4 separate regions of the Homo sapiens genome follow, and regions 1, 3 and 4 are each linked to region 2. The links are contacts of gene promoters, found by promoter capture Hi-C in human tissues and cell types (Jung and others, 2019). All regions are on one chromosome and are shown on one strand. The core of a region is centred on a gene start or on the middle of the fragment in contact, and the rest is flanking DNA. Distances in the headings are between cores, read along the strand shown.

Region 1 (4,062 bases), core at 905-3,404, 520 kb after region 2:
ACACCATTTTCCAAGTCATTCTAGCTCAAATTTTTCTTACTTTAAATTCCATTTATTAATCTCTGGTCATTTCTTAAATCTATCGCTTCCTTTACATTCCTGTTGTCTCCTAAATAACCAAATTCAGGCCTTCATCACACCCTATTTCTGGAATTCCAATCAGTGTTTTTTGTGGTCTCCCTATAGTTAATCCTTTTCACTCTGCTCATGTACATCAAGGGAAGGGTGGTGAAAGTGCTGCTCACCTCCCCAAGAGTAGGCAATAAGTGGGTGTATTGTCTGTAGGCAATTTGGAAACAAAAATAAAACCAAGTTGGTCGGCTTTCTATTATCATCATGCCCCAGCAATAATAAACATCAGTTATAAAAGCACTCCTCCCTGAAAAATAGTTGGTCTAAGCTATAAACAACTGTTGAGTTTTAATAACACACATGTAAGCTTTAAGTAAGCACATTTTATGACTTATACTTTAATAAATACCGCACTTCATGTAAGACTTAATTAGGAAAGCTCCCAGTTACAGTCTTCTACTTAAAGTCTCCCCTGATACAGGTGGATTCCACTACACATGTTCCTTTCAAGAGAAAGTTGGTAGCAATCTGAAATTATTCAAGCTCACTTCAGCGAAATGTGTGCCTCCAACCCTGTGGTACAATATATTATTATATTTAAGCATATTAGAAATAAACAACAATGGTACAGTGATTTTTAAAGTCAATGAAAGGATTTGGAGTTGCCTCAATTCTGTCATTATATGCGATTTTGAGCTTGTGTTTAAAATATTTTAACTGCGAAGACACTGAAAAATCATTAGACTTGATCCTTCAAAAACAAAGGCAAGGAAAGTATGGCAATTTCTGGAATTTACTGGAGGATGGAATTTTAAGAATCTCTGCTGAACTTATCCTTATGCTGAAGATTTTCTCTGTGTAGCAGTTGCTTCATGAAAAAAACTTTCAAAATTAAAATTTAAAGATAGTGTTCTTCCATCAAGTAAGAGTAGACAGATTGATAAATCTGGCTATGATGTACTAAGCCCCAATATCGAAAGATCAATTCTGAAGAAGCTATTGATAAGTTTTCAAAAACGAAAGCTATACTATTCACCACTGTGACAGATCAATATATAAAAACATTTTTCCTTTTTAAAAAAATGATCAATGTAACTTCAAATTATTAACCCATTGTCTATTTTTGTATTATAATGTTGATTTTATTATTTATTTTTTACTGACAGTTATAAAATACAATTTCAATAGAAGAATATTTTCACTGTCTGCATTTTTTTCCTGGCCATTAGTACTATAACTAGTTTCATGATAATTGAAAATGATTTTTTCATATATAAGAGGATGTTAAAAATTAGCTTCTCTAGGTGCTAAATACTAAGTAAGCACAGCCTCTGTGAGTGAAGATTAATTACTGCTAGGTAAAATACCCCATTGTCCCATAACCTCATTTTTGTTTAAATCTTTTATTTCTTAGAAGTTTTGATTTAGAGTCATTTGGGAGGCCGAGGCGGGAGGATCACTTAAGATGAGGAGTTCAAGACCAGCCTAGCCAACATGGTGAAACTCCATCTCTACTAAAAATACAAAAAATTAGCCAGGCATGGTGGTGCGTGCCTGTAATCCCACCTACTAAGAGGGAGGCTGAGGCAGGGGAATTGCTGGAACCTGGGAGGTGGAGGTTGCAGTAAGCTGTGATCACGCCACCGCCGCTCCAGCCTGGGAGACAGAGTCTCAGGAAAAAAAAAAAAAAGAAAAAGAAAAAAAGAAAACAAAATTCATCCAGATCTCATCACCCTCACTCCCTCACTGCTGTGTCTTCAGATCTTAATTTCTTGCCTAGATTATGCAATAATAGCCTAAGTGGTTTCTAGTCTCACCTCACTGAATCTTTTCTCCACACTGATATCAGAGTGAACTTCCTAAGAAACCACCTTGATTAAAAGCCAAATATGGCTCCTCCCACTTACAGGATGAAATTCAAACTCCTATGATATTTTAAAACTCCTACAGCCTGTCCTGTCTCTATAGCTATCATCCCCTCATGGGATGCTGTACCCGCTCCCTTACCCATCATACACCCTACACTTTAGTTATACAAAACCACTATACTCAGGCTGCCATTCTCAAGACTTTTCATTACTGATCCCACTGTTGGGAAAACCTATATCTCCTTTCTTTGTTGGGCAACTCATATAAGCTCCTTCTGAGCTGGCTGAGATATCTTTTAATATCTTTCCTGAAAATCCCTTCACACTGCTGAATTTAATGCCTCTCCTCTGTTCCCACAGAGGTTCCTGTCTAACTCTCCCTGCTACTGGAAGGCGTGGGCTGTCTTAACATTTATATTCCCAATGCTGGAAATATAACATATACCCAATAATATCTACTGAATAATTAAGGAACACATAAGTGACTGACCACTGGATAAAATCCAGAACTCTATACTAAGCATTCAAGGTCCACCAAAGTCAGGGTTTAACCCACTGGTTCTCAAACTTGAACGTGCTCCAGAATCAACTGAGATGCTTCTAAAATACACAATCTGGGTCCCTATCCCAAGGGCATTCAATCAAAATTTCCAGCGGTAAAGGCCAGAAAAACTACCTTTATAAAGTGTCCTTGTGATTAGATAACTGAGCCAACATCACTGTACTACTTAAATAGATGTTCTATAAATGTTTCATTCATTCTTAGATTAGCACATTACACATATTAATCATGACTTATTTATTTCAATTTGTGTTTCAAAATTATGTATATTTCAAGTGTAATCTACTAGTGTTTTGGTAGTAAGTGAAATCTGGATGGGAATTCCTTCCTCACTGGTCTCATAACAGGATGGCTATGCATAAGCTGACAACTGCCCTGGACAGTCGTCCTTCTCTCTTCAGTAAGAGGTCCAAGTACAATGTTGATGCTATATGCATTTTCTCTGGGGTATACTCTGTATTCCATGCAAAAATATTCTTTTGTTTGGCTAAATGTAAGCAAATGGATAATATCTCACTAAATTATTTTACTCGTCTGTGGTAATTCACAAAATACTTACAGTTAATCTCAAATCATGGTCTGACAGTCATTCAAGAATGTTTTCCAAGATGCACTCATTTGTAATTAGGTCAGCATGATCTCATCCAAACAATGAGGAAGAGGAAAATAGGAGACTCAGGGAGGAGCTGGGAAGAGGGAGAAATCTGGCCTTGCTTTTACCACTTCCCTAGTTATATGGCCTTGTACAATTCATTTAATTTATATGGATCTCTGTTCCCTTTCTATAAAAATAAATGATTTCTGATGTTTAAATGAAATAATACACTTAAACATTTACAAACAAATAAAATTTGGGTATCATTTTTTAAATCAGTAGATTGTGTTGGGTTTTTCTCCCTTCCCTTATTTCTCAACCAATTATTCCTATGACTTTCTGGAAACTAAACTTTCTGCTAAACCTGTGCTTTAACAGTCTTAGAAAGCAAGGCATTAGCCTTTTGAAAAACTCTCTCACGAACATTCCTTCCTTTAATTGATGAAACTAAGAAATTGACATGTATCCATGACCTCTGCAATGCTCTGGTTTTCTTAAACTTTTTAAGTTATATTTTCCAAATATAAAAGTCAAAAATTGGTAATAGTTATAAAAATGAAGATACATTAGAACTCTCATAAATCTCATATTTCAATGCCAGCATCCACAATAATGCAGCCACAGCAAATAAGCATATAAAAATAGTGATTGGCATAGTAACAAGGCAAAAGAAGTGATCCCTTAGGTGGAAGTAACAGCAACCTTGCAAAGTTAGGTTCATGCAGACCAGCAAGTAAGAACCAAAGCTTTACCACTTAAGAGCTGAAAAAATAAATACTTAAAACAAAATGCAACATCTGTTACACTAACAACTGAAGTTTACACAAAAAATACAAAATACCAATTCATGTATAAAGTATATAAAGCTTATTATAATAATTGTACAAATTATATAAAGACTATTATGAAAACTATGTATACTAATTTAAAAAATGCTTACATATATATTTTCATGTATCAAATAT
Region 2 (3,711 bases), core at 459-2,958:
TGAGAAACAACAAGTTGGAGGTGTGGATCGGGGAGGCGTGAGGAGGAAGCGGCCACAGGTACAGGGACCAATTCGCACAATAGGAAAAGGTGAGAAATGAAGAGGGCCTTCAGTGGAGATCCACAGCCTCTCTCCAAGTCAACACACTCAGTCAGTCCTGGCAGCTCAGCCCAGAAAACTTTGTCAGCCATGGCTGGGGTAACTGTGTCCAGAGGTGTTTGAACAAGAGCCACTCCATCTTGAATAGGGACTGAGTAAAATAAGGCTGAAACCTACTGGGCTGCCTTCCCAGGTGGTTCAGCATTCTTAGTCACAGGATGAGATAGAAGGTTGGCACAAGGTACAGGTCACAAAGACTTTGCTGATGAAACAGGACTCAGTAAAGAAGCCAGCCAAGACCCACCAAAATCAAGATGGTCATGAAAGTGACCTCTGGTCGTCCTCATTACTCATTAAATGCTAATTTTAATGCATTAGCCTGATAAAAGACCCTCCCACCAGGGCCATGACAGTTTACAAGTGCCATGGCAACGTCAGAAAGTTACCCTATATGGTCTAAAAAGTGAAGGAACCCTCAGTTCCGGGAATTGCCCACCCTTTTCCTGGAAAATTCATGAATAATCCACCCCTTGTTTAGCATAGAATCAAGAAATAACTACCAGTATAATTAGCTAAGCAGCCCACACAGCTGCTCTGCCAGTGGAGTAGCCATTCTTTTTTGTTGTTGTTCTTCTTGTTTTTTGTTTTTTTTTTGTTTTTTTTTTTTTTGAGACAGAGTCTGGCTCTGTCGCCCAAGCTGGAGTGCAGTGGCGCAATCTCGGCTCACTGCAACCTCTGCCTCCGGAGTTCAAGCGATTCTCCTGCCTCAGCCTCCCGAGTAGCTGGGATTACAGGCATAGAGCACCATGCCTGGCTAACTTTTCGTATTTTTAGTAGAGAGAGTGTTTCACCATGTTGGCCAGGCTGGTCTGAACTCCTGAGCTCAAGTGATCTGCCTGCCTTTGCCTCCCAAAGTGTTGGGATTATGGGCGTGAGCCACCGCACCCGGCCTGTTTTCTATACTTCCTTAATAAACTTGCTCTCACTCTACGGACTCACCCCGAATTCTTTCTTGCGAGAAGTCCAAGAACCCTCGCTTGGGGTCTGGATCGGGACCCCTCTCCGGTAACAAGTGATATCGGTATTAAAGGTACCCCCACATGTCAAAGGCTTCCCTCCACAAGTCAGAGTTGGGGAGGGACAGGAGGCAGCAGGGGACCGACAAAGAGCAATGGAAAGAGAAGGCCTGGGAGCCAAGCAGGCCTGGGGTTGACTCCAGGCTCCCTTAGTGGCCTGCACAACTCAGATGACCCGTCTGTGAAGTGCAGGTCACAGTGGGCACCACACACGGCTGCAGAAAGGAGTGCAAAGGTGATGCCCACGCCTGGCCTAGGGCGGGGGCGCAATACATGGCTGTTGCGGCTGTGATTGCTGGAGGAAGGGAGTCATTTGGAAGGCACAAAGGAACTAGAACCTACTCGGTGTCGGGACAAGCCTCAAGGATGGGGCAGGGGTTCCGGCAAGAGCTGGGTTCCAGCCTGGGTTGCCACCAACAGCGAAAGTGACTGCCAGGTGGCAGTAGGGTGACTTCACCAGCTTAAGTGCTTAGCGGGCAGGCGAGGGGGCGGAGCAAGAGAAGAAAACACAAAGGGCCGGAAGGAAGCCGGGGAGACAGGTGGGGTACTCGGGAAGCTGGAGCGGGCCGGCGGTGCAGTCACGGGGGAGCGAGGCCTGCTGGGCTTGGCAACGAGGGACTCGGCCTCGGAGGCGACCCAGACCACACAGGTGAGCCCCCGCCCCGGGGAGTGTTGACGGCGGGAGGGGGTGGCCTCGGGGGAACGCGGCGCCGCAGGGCAGTCCTTCGAAGGCCGCGCGGTGCAGCGGTGGCCGCCCCCCACTCTCCCCTAACTCGGACCCCGGCGGCCCCGGCACGGGCGAGGGGCTGGGGAGCTTGGGGTGGCGCTGGCTGCTTCTGGCCAGGGATGGCAGCGGACTCCAGTAGGCTGACTCCCGGCTTCCCCGACCGCATCAGAAAGTGCAGTGTCCCCCGTCCGCCGTCCAGCCCTGCAGGCGCCCCCCTCCAAGCCATCCTAAGAAGCACCCCCGCCCCCCATGCTGGGGCGCGCCCTCCTCCGCACATTCGTCGGTCAGCACCCACGAACCCACGGGTCCCTTCCCCACCACTGAGGAAACAGAGGGTCCCCGGACCACCCCAGCGTGGGGGGTGGGAGCTACACCTGCAAGGCAAGACCCTCGGAAGGCTTGCTTTTAGGTGCAGACTGAGGACTAAGTGGGTGCCAGGGGACCTGGCCACCGAAGCTGAGAGGTATATTTGCCTCCCAATATAGGGCAGCGGCCTAATGGCTAAGCAAAGATAATCTAATTTGGCGTGGTCAGCAAAGACTTCCTGGGAGTGCTCAGGAAATGGAAGGTGTGCAGGGGCTTTATGGACGTATCCCTCATCCTCATCCTCATCCTAGTCTTCATTCCTGCAAGAGCCCCTCACCATTGTTGTGTCCATTATGCCCAATTAACAGTGGAGAAAGCTGAGGCAGAGACGGATTAAGTCATTTGCACCAAAGGGATCGCAGGGGTAAAGAGTCACGATTTGAACTCTGGTCTCTCTGACCCCAGTACTTTCCCGTGCAGGGCACCGTGCTGCCCCTGTAATCACATTAGACACCTGTGATGAAACTTGGTGCGAGTACGGGTCCCCTTGGCTCAAATGCCTCAAAGTTTAGTAACTGATGTAGGAAACAGAATTGTATATAAGAGGTTCATTTTGCAGAAGAAAAGCAGAGGTAGAGGTAGAGTTCAGGGCTGCAGAATGCAGTGGCCACTGGGGGCAGGAGGAGGCTCAAAGTCCACCTGGATTATGTCCATCATTGCCAAATCCAGGGTCCACTTTTCTAAGCCATGTGATGGTGTTGATGATTCACTCCCTCCTTCAGAAATTCCCTCCCCTCTGTATCAGCTATTCCTTCTCAGTCATTTCCTTGGCCTGCTTTTTTTTTTTTAATCTTTCTTCTCTTTTCGATATTCCCTTGGGCTCAGTGTTCATATTCTCCAGTACTGTTTTTAGACACATTTATTAAAGTTCCCTGCTTTAACTCTCATCTCTATGATGGCAGCTCCCAACTTCATCTCTCTAGCCTACCCCTGTTCTGGAACTCTAGACCCAAATCGTCAAATATTAACAGTGGCTAATTCCACTGTTTGCCCCCACAGGCACCCAAATCCAACATTTCCAAACCCAAATTTAGCATCTCTATCAAAGATGCTAAATTCCCACCAGGGTCTTTGTTCACGTCCCTGTAACTCCTTGTCTGGACTAGTGTACCACCTTCCAACCTGGTCCTCCTGCCCCAGAGTCCATCTACCCTCCACAGATCCTCCTGAAAGCTTAGGAGTCCTAGTTCCTTTGTGACATGACTAGATGGAATGGACCCTGCTTTCTTTTCTTCCTTAGCATCCCATGCATACTTTTCATGTTGTGTAACTGTTGACTTGTCTATCTCCCCTTTTGGACTGTGAATTCCTTCACAGCGGTGATCTTGTCTTATCCTTCTTCATATCCCCTGGCCTGGCACATAATCGACACTCAGTGCACAGTGTGGTATTTCCACTCTATTCTAAATCTGATCTGTCCCCATTAGTGAGTGCATGTATGTG
Region 3 (3,670 bases), core at 395-2,894, 560 kb after region 2:
GGTACTCAATAAATGTCTGATGATTACTTCTTGGGTGACCATTCATTCCAGTTTCCCCAAGGCAGTTCTAATTTAAATCTACTGTTCTGACATCTCATCTGGTTAGTGCTCCATTGACTCTCAAGTAGTGCCCAATCCCTTAACTTATTCTTAATTTTCAGAACCACACAGTATTAGTTGGTTTTCACACTGCTGATAAAGACATCCCTGAGACTGGGCAATTTACAAAAGAGGTTTAATTGGACTTACAGTTCCACAAGGCTGGGGAAACCTCACAATCATGGTGGAAGGCAAGCAGGAGCAAGTCACATCTTACATGGATTGCAGCAGGCAAAGGGAGAATGAGGAAGACACAAAAGCGGAAACCTCTGATAAAACTATCAGATCTTGCGAGAGTTAACTCACCATCTAGAGAACAGTATAGGGGAAAACGCCCCATGAGTCAATTATCTCCCACCAGGTCCCTCCCACAACACGTGGGGCTTATGGGAGTACAATTCAAGATGAGATTTGGGTGGGGACACACAGCCAAACCATATCAAGCACTATTTTTGACTTAGAAAATGTAAATGGAGCAAAGTAACTAGAATACGAAACTTATTACTGCAATACAGTACTAGTTATTTCTGGTCATGTTGACACCATACCATAAGTATCCTTTAAGGCAATGGTTCTTAACCTGTGGTAATTTTGCCCCAAAGGGACACCTGGCAACATCTGGAGACATTTTTGATTGGCCAGGGATGCTGCTGGACATCCTACAACACACAGGATAGCACCCACAACAAAGAGTTATCTGACCCAAATGTCAAGGTTGCAGAATCCTGTTTGGGATTATCCTTACAATAACATTAATAAGATCAAAATGACATTTTTAAACAATGTGAATGTTTTTTAAGAGGAACTAAACAATCTTGAAACCAAAATGATATCTATTATTTCCTTCATAGGTAAATGGCCTAATCTTTAATCATTTAGCTTGATGTGATGTGATGGTTTTCATGCAACATATTATAAGTAGTTGGTATGAAATGGAAAGAGTATCACTGTGGACTCAATAGTTTGGTTTGAATTCAATACTTTGGTTTGAATACTTCAGGGCAGAAGAGGTGGACACAAACCTCAGAGGCTGTTTTCTAGCCAATAAAGGTAGCTATGACTTGTGTTCTCGCCTACATACTATTGCCACACTAACCTCTCCAAAATGCCATTTTGTTAAAAGCATTCCAATATTCAAAAACTCTCCTCCTAGATTTCACAGGCCATTCACAGTATGATCTCCAACCCAATGATTCAGCTTTCTCACTTGTTCCCTAACAAACATCCCTTTAGTTAAGATCTTCACAGGCCTTTTCTCTACCCTACTCAAATGTATCACTCGCTCTTTTCCCTAAACTTGTTGATTCTCACAGACAGCAAAAAATACCTTTCCATGTGTGCCCAAATCCAAAGTCCCGGCTCTCACTTTTAAGCCCATATACACCTTTCTTCTAGAAAATATTACTGGTTTCAGAGAGAACAGAATTCTATGTTCATTCTGTCTCCTAACCAAACTCTAAACACCTTGAAAGCTTATGCTCCACTCAGTAATTTAAACAAATATTTATACAGCAGTTACCACTGGCCAGACATGGCGTTAGACAGAAATGTGAAGATGAATTAAGATATAACTAGATTATTACACCTCACATAAAGGTTGTTAGCCTCTTTCACTCGCAGGCTGCACTACCATCAAGACTTACCGTGCCTGCTCATCAAGTTCCAAACCTCTAGATTCAGGTTTCTAGGATTCATCAGTTTTTTGGGTTTTGCTTCTTAATCCACTCCACCATCAGTCCTAAGTATAACCAATGGCAAATAAGAGTTTCACTGTGACAGGTCAACACAAGATTCATTATCTCCCACTCAGAGGAGAAATGAGCAGGCCCACTCAAAAGATATAAGCATTCAAAGCCTAAAATTACTAAAGTACTCTTTCTGTATCTACTAAATAGGTATTAGCAAAAACACACAATTTAGTCTGATTATCACTATAGAATATAGTACCGATTAGGTATTAAATGCATACTAAAAACCTAACTTGAGAGTACCTATTAAATCCCATTCCTCAAGCTTATTGGAGTCAAGGGTCACTTACAGACTAGCTTGGCCCACTCCTGGTTCTCATTCACACTTTTCAAACAAAATAAGCCTCAAGAGCCACACATAATTGGGTACTTTCTTACTGTCTCACAGAGAGAGGAGCAGAAGCTCCTGAATGGAGTAGGAGAGGGATGTGTGGGGGAGGAGTTTCAGTCTAGTACACTGCAGAAGTGGGAGATGATTTGATTCATCCTCATGAATTATAAACCTGATTTTTAACTAAATACAACTTCCTTTGTCTTATCTTTCCAAATACTTTCAAGAATTTCATATCTGATACCGTGGTACTACATTATATTGCATCTATTATTCTTCATATTTCAAGGAGATAGAATCAATATTTTTTTCTCTAAAGTCTCTAATTTCTATTTTATTCCAGAATGTGAGACCTTTCCCAGATCAAAGTAAACTGTTCTGCAATTTCTGAGCCACTCCTAAAGACCTAGTTTAAAGCCTTCCTCTTAAATAAGCTAGTTTGTCCTAAAGTTGTTCATTTCCTCCATAACTTCGATCCCAAAAGATCTCAGAAGACGTAATTTTGAGTAAATGAAAGAGGTGAAATAAGAACTTATTATTACCAAAGCCTTAAAACCTACATTATTTTACAAATTCATTTTTGCTACTGAAAATTAGCCCAACAGGAGTCACATGCAATGTGCTCTGGGTAGTACAGATAATTACTACAAGGAATAGTGTATTCAGGTAATGCAAACCATTTATATTAAGACACTACTTAATTCTGCTATTTACTGCCCAAATTGCCATTTTAAAAAATAATGTCAAAATTACATGAATTTATATAGTTATAGATATGTTCCTAGCAGAAGGGTAAGGAGGCAGGGGTCTGCGTAAGTGGAAGTAGAAGGCAAGTAGCCTTTTTGGGCTACCAGGGTATCAGCACCAGGTTCCCTGGGCAATCTGGCATAGGAATTTGAATACACGGAGGCCCCAAAGATGGGGACTGAGGAGCAGTAGCAACATCAGTGATCCAGAAGGCTCACAGGATGTGAGCTATACAACTTTGGTGTTCCTTATCTGATATTCCTAAAAACCAAAGTTGTGTTTTTCATGAAAACAGACTACATGATTTATTTAGGTAGATCTGATAAATGTTTTAATAGTTACACTTGTGGAATTTAATTTTTTAAGTGTAAAGTTAAGAACATTCTAAGAAGCATTCTAAATCACTTTCGGTCCTGGGTGCTACCCAGTTCAATAAATGTTTTTTTTGCCCAATTAAATTGTTAAATTTAAAACAAACAAGAATAATAGATCATAAGATCAAATACATATCTTGGGTTCCAATTCTATCAAAAATGTGCTATCATTACAGCACAGTGCTCCACCTATGGCAGTTACTCAATAAATGAAACCATATTTGTTGAAGCCAAAATGTATCCATCTGTGATATATAATCTTACTACTACTAAGTAACAAGGAAAACTACAAGTAAAAAGGCTTCTAATGTATCATGTTATATTATGATCCCCACATGATCACAGAGTAATAAAACTGACTTAAATTTTAT
Region 4 (4,008 bases), core at 498-2,997, 580 kb after region 2:
AAAAGATACAATCGAAAGATAAACCCAAAATCAATAAAAATGTTAAACAAATGGAGAAGGAGGGAATAGAGTGAAGGGCATAGAAATAGTGCTATGGAGAAGAAATACATCGAGAAAGGAGGATAGGGAATGTGGGTGAGGGCAGAATTGCAATTTTATTATTTATTTATTTTGAAACAAGGCCTTGCTCTGTCACCCAGGCTGGAGTGCAGTGGTGCAATCTCAGCTCACTGCAATCTCTGCCTCCTGGGCTGAAGCAGTCCTCCCACTTCAGCCCCCAGAGTGGCTGGGACCACAGGCATATACCACCGCGCCCAGCTAATTTTTCTATTTTTTGTAGAGATGGAGTTTTGCTGTGTTGCACAGGCTGGTCTCCAAATTCTGTACTCAAGTGATCCACCCGCCTTGGCCTCCCACAGTGCTGGGATTACAGGTGTGAGCCATTGCTCCTGGCCAAGATTACAATTTTATTTTATTTTTTTGAGAGAGAGTCTCTCTGTGTCACCCAGGCTGGAGTGCTGTGGCGCAATCTCGGCTCACTGCAACCTCGCCTCCCTGATTCAAGTGATTCTCCTGCCTCAGCCTCCCAAGCAGCTGAGATTACAGGTGCCCACCACCAGGCCCAGCTAATTTTTGTTATTTTTGTAGAGACAGGGTTTCACCATATTGGCCAGGCTGGTCTCGAACTCCGGACCTCAAGTAATCCACCCACCTTGGCCTCCCAAAATGCTGGGATTACAGGCGTGAGCCACTGTGCCCGGCCGGGATTGCAATTTTAAATAGGGTGCTCAGGGCAGGCCTCGCCTAGAAGATGATGTTTGAACAAAACTCTGAAGGAGGGTGAGGGAGCCAACCAGGCAGGAAACTGCGGATGAGCATACCAAGCAGAAGAGCAAGTACAAAGGCCCTGAGGCAATAATGTGCCTGGCTTCAGGGAAAAACAAGGTTGGATGACTAAACTGGAATGAGTGTCAAAGAGCGTGGTGGAAAATGAAGTCAGAGAGATGGAGGAAAGATTCCTTACAGCCTGTAGTCAGTTGTGAAGACTGACTTTTACTCCGTATGACATAAGACAAGGCAGGATTTGAGCCGAGGAGTGACAGGACCTAACTTATATTTTGATGGGCTCTCTCTCTGTTTCTTGCATGTTTGCCATTTGCCCCCTTCCCCCTTATTCTATCTCAGAACCCCTGCTTACTCATGTTCTGTGTTCTCTAACATCAGTCTACATGTGGCGTTGGGTTTGGTGTTGTAACAACTGGTGACATTTCAGTTCATGTGACTACTATGACCTAATCACTCAGTCTCTCAGTGTCCCAATTCCAGATTCTTGGGTGACATAATATTAGACTCACATATTATTAGACTAACTAATATTAGCCCACCATGGTACAGCATGCTGAGGCTGGAGTCAGAAGTGAGCAGAATCCTGTAATATTTCCAAGAGGGAATATGGGCAGACAGGCAATGGTTAGCACATCAACTTCATCAAGTACTTCAAATATTTTGGTTTCTCAATAAATATATACATGAGTTAATAAATCTAGCATATTTAGTAAACAACTTATAATCCTACCTACTGTTGTAATGCTCAGTAACCACTTCAGAGTAACAGTAATAATAGATGACTTTATACTAAATGATGGCTTTACACTAAAACAGGTTTCTAAAACTATCTGTGGTAAGAACCAGTTTTCTTATTTGTATTTCCAAATAGTCTCCATAGGAGAATGATGTTTTTGTAAAATATGCTAAAAATGAATTCCTTGACAAATTAAATTTTAAAAAGATATGCAAAATTGAAAAAATTTTTTTTGTTATTAGATTCAACAGACAGAAGATTGCTACGTCAAATTGCTCTAGGTTTCTAAATGCTTAGTCTCAATTTCTGTACTGATCACACACCAGTAACAGTTCCATACTTTAAATAGCACTGTACTAAAACTCACTTATCTAAATAGTAAATTTTATAATAATGATGGTCAATTAATGGCATTTAATATTCTGAATGAACATTAAAGAATGTGAAGTTGTTTTGCTGTTTTACTTCTCTGACTTTTCTCATTAGATAAGCTAGTGTCTTGCATGTAGATTCTAATGGATATTTGTTATTGAAATATTCCTCTAGCTTAAGAACATATTTTCTCACATGAAAAACAGTGTGTAATTTGTTCCACTTAGATTTGCTAGTAGATTGCTGGGCACGGTGGCTCATGCCTGTAATCCCAGCACTTTGGGTGGCCGAGGCGGGCAGATCACGAGGTCAGGAGATCGAGATTTGCTAGTAGATTAACTCTACTGCTAAATATGACTGAAATCATTTCATTTTCTCTTGGGTTAGAAATGGGAGAAACAAGGAAAAAACAGGGATTATCTTTCTTAAATTTCAGAGACAGACAAAAAAAGTATTAACACTGATTTAGAGGGAAGGAAGCTTCTAAATACTCATCCTTCACTGAGATCTAAAATCCTGGTATTGTAATTGATTTGAGGACCATTTTCTTAATTTACTATTTAAGTGCTTAATTGGTATGCTAAATTTTCTATAAAGTGAGTTAAACTAATTCAAGCCCAATAGTTTATGGCTTCAACAACTTAAGACAAATTACATATGAGCAAGTTGTTTGCCCTTAAGCAGGAAAAACATCAAACAATACCCTACTTGCCCCTTTACTACAGTTTCTCTTTAAGGAACAGAAACAGAAAATTAAAAATGAGAGGCCATTAATGAAATTATTTCAAATTCATCATTTGAATACAATAAACAAATAAATCACTGGTTTACTTACAAGCTACCATTCTACAACAATCAGTCAGAGAGAAATTATAGAGTAAGTTTAAACTGGTAGCAGTAAGCCTAGATTAGTGATTCATCTCCTAAGACTCTATGACTTCATCATCCACAGAATTGTGGCTAACCAGAATTTCAAAAGCATGTATAAATATAATAAAAATATCTGAAATGGTTATCAAGAGTTCCCAGGGTATTCAATCCCCTTAGTTCTGCCTTAGAATTTTTAAAAAGTATCTGTAAGTGTTCCAATTTTTTTTATTCATACAGAATCAGAATACTTCAGATTCCCTCAAGCAGGAAAAACATCAAACAATACCCTACTTTCCCCTTTGCTACAATATTTCTTTAAGAAACAGAAACAGAAAATAAAAAATGAGAGTCCATGAAAAAATTATTTCAAATTCATCATTGCCAGGAATTAAATTGTTCTCCTTCATATAGATTATTGTGACACATTAATATTGTTTTCAAAATTACCTTTTAGAGATATCAATATTTTTCTTAAGAAAAACAATCTAATGGTAAATGTTTTCTAAAATACAAATTAATAAATATTCCCTGAATTCATTTGTAACAAGTGCTAAACTTATTGCCTTAGTCTATGTAGAAGGTACCACAGCTCCAGAGATGTTATCTATGGTGGATATCTATAGTTTTTTCTGCTTAGCTCTTCTTCCACACCTGCTTGTTAACAGGAAGACATTTCTCCATGGATCTCTTGCATTTCTGCACATCTTGTGATGTGACACTGGCTACTCTTGTTCTGCAATATCATTTCAGGGATGTTTACACAGCAAACAGTTTTGGAACAGAGATAATTTCTCCCTGTGCAGCAAACAGCAGATTTATTTACTATCCAATATAAAGATAAAGGTAATGTTTCCCTTCTGAGCAAAGGTCAGGTACTTACTGACAATTATAAAGATTTGGGTTCCCTAAGCTCGGAGTTTCTCACTGGTAACACAACCCACTGGGTGTATAAGCCCCACCTGGCTTTATTCATGTCTCCTTGTGGGAACCAGAGCAAATGCTGATACTCTGGGTACTATTGCTATGAGTGATACATTGTCCTTTGTCTCTAATGCAGGAATCTTGTGTCTTCTGCCATGAAACTTGAGGCAGGCTAACTTGATAGCTTGCAAGTAGGGCAAAATCCTTGAGTTCTCTACCTTGCACTAATTCCTGCTTTGAGTTCTTTCCAAGACATACCTATG

The links. The method cuts DNA at HindIII sites, captures the fragments that hold promoters and counts their contacts. A contact is called where the count stands out against the background at its distance.
Region 1: a fragment that was not itself captured here is called in contact with the fragment with the promoter of OCIAD2 in region 2 in 4 of the 25 tissues and cell types used here (dorsolateral prefrontal cortex, liver, lymphoblastoid cells and 1 more).
Region 3: a contact is called between a fragment that was not itself captured here and the fragment with the promoter of OCIAD2 in region 2, in 2 of the 25 tissues and cell types used here (aorta and dorsolateral prefrontal cortex).
Region 4: a fragment that was not itself captured here is called in contact with the fragment with the promoter of OCIAD2 in region 2 in 2 of the 25 tissues and cell types used here (aorta and lymphoblastoid cells).

What each region holds. Positions count from the first base shown.
Region 1 is chr4:48,387,785-48,391,846 of GRCh38, reverse strand. The region is part of intron 6 of SLAIN2 (SLAIN motif family member 2); the gene reads right to left. Among named protein-coding and RNA genes, the nearest start is that of SLAIN2, 48 kb to the right of the region's middle. The HindIII fragment of the contact is 5,909 bases long and covers 1-4,062 here.
Region 2 is chr4:48,904,771-48,908,481 of GRCh38, reverse strand. It overlaps OCIAD2 (OCIA domain containing 2), which reads left to right and starts at 1,708. Exons shown (of 7, transcript NM_001014446.3): 1 at 1,708-1,824. RefSeq lists an enhancer at 1,401-1,480 and a silencer at 1,771-2,030. The HindIII fragment of the contact is 7,902 bases long and covers 1-3,630 here.
Region 3 is chr4:48,349,667-48,353,336 of GRCh38, reverse strand. All of the region lies in intron 1 of SLAIN2 (SLAIN motif family member 2), which reads right to left. Among named protein-coding and RNA genes, the nearest start is that of SLAIN2, 10 kb to the right of the region's middle. The HindIII fragment of the contact is 3,427 bases long and covers 1-3,357 here.
Region 4 is chr4:48,329,058-48,333,065 of GRCh38, reverse strand. No RefSeq gene overlaps it. Among named protein-coding and RNA genes, the nearest start is that of SLAIN2, 10 kb to the left of the region's middle. The HindIII fragment of the contact is 3,646 bases long and covers 1-3,570 here.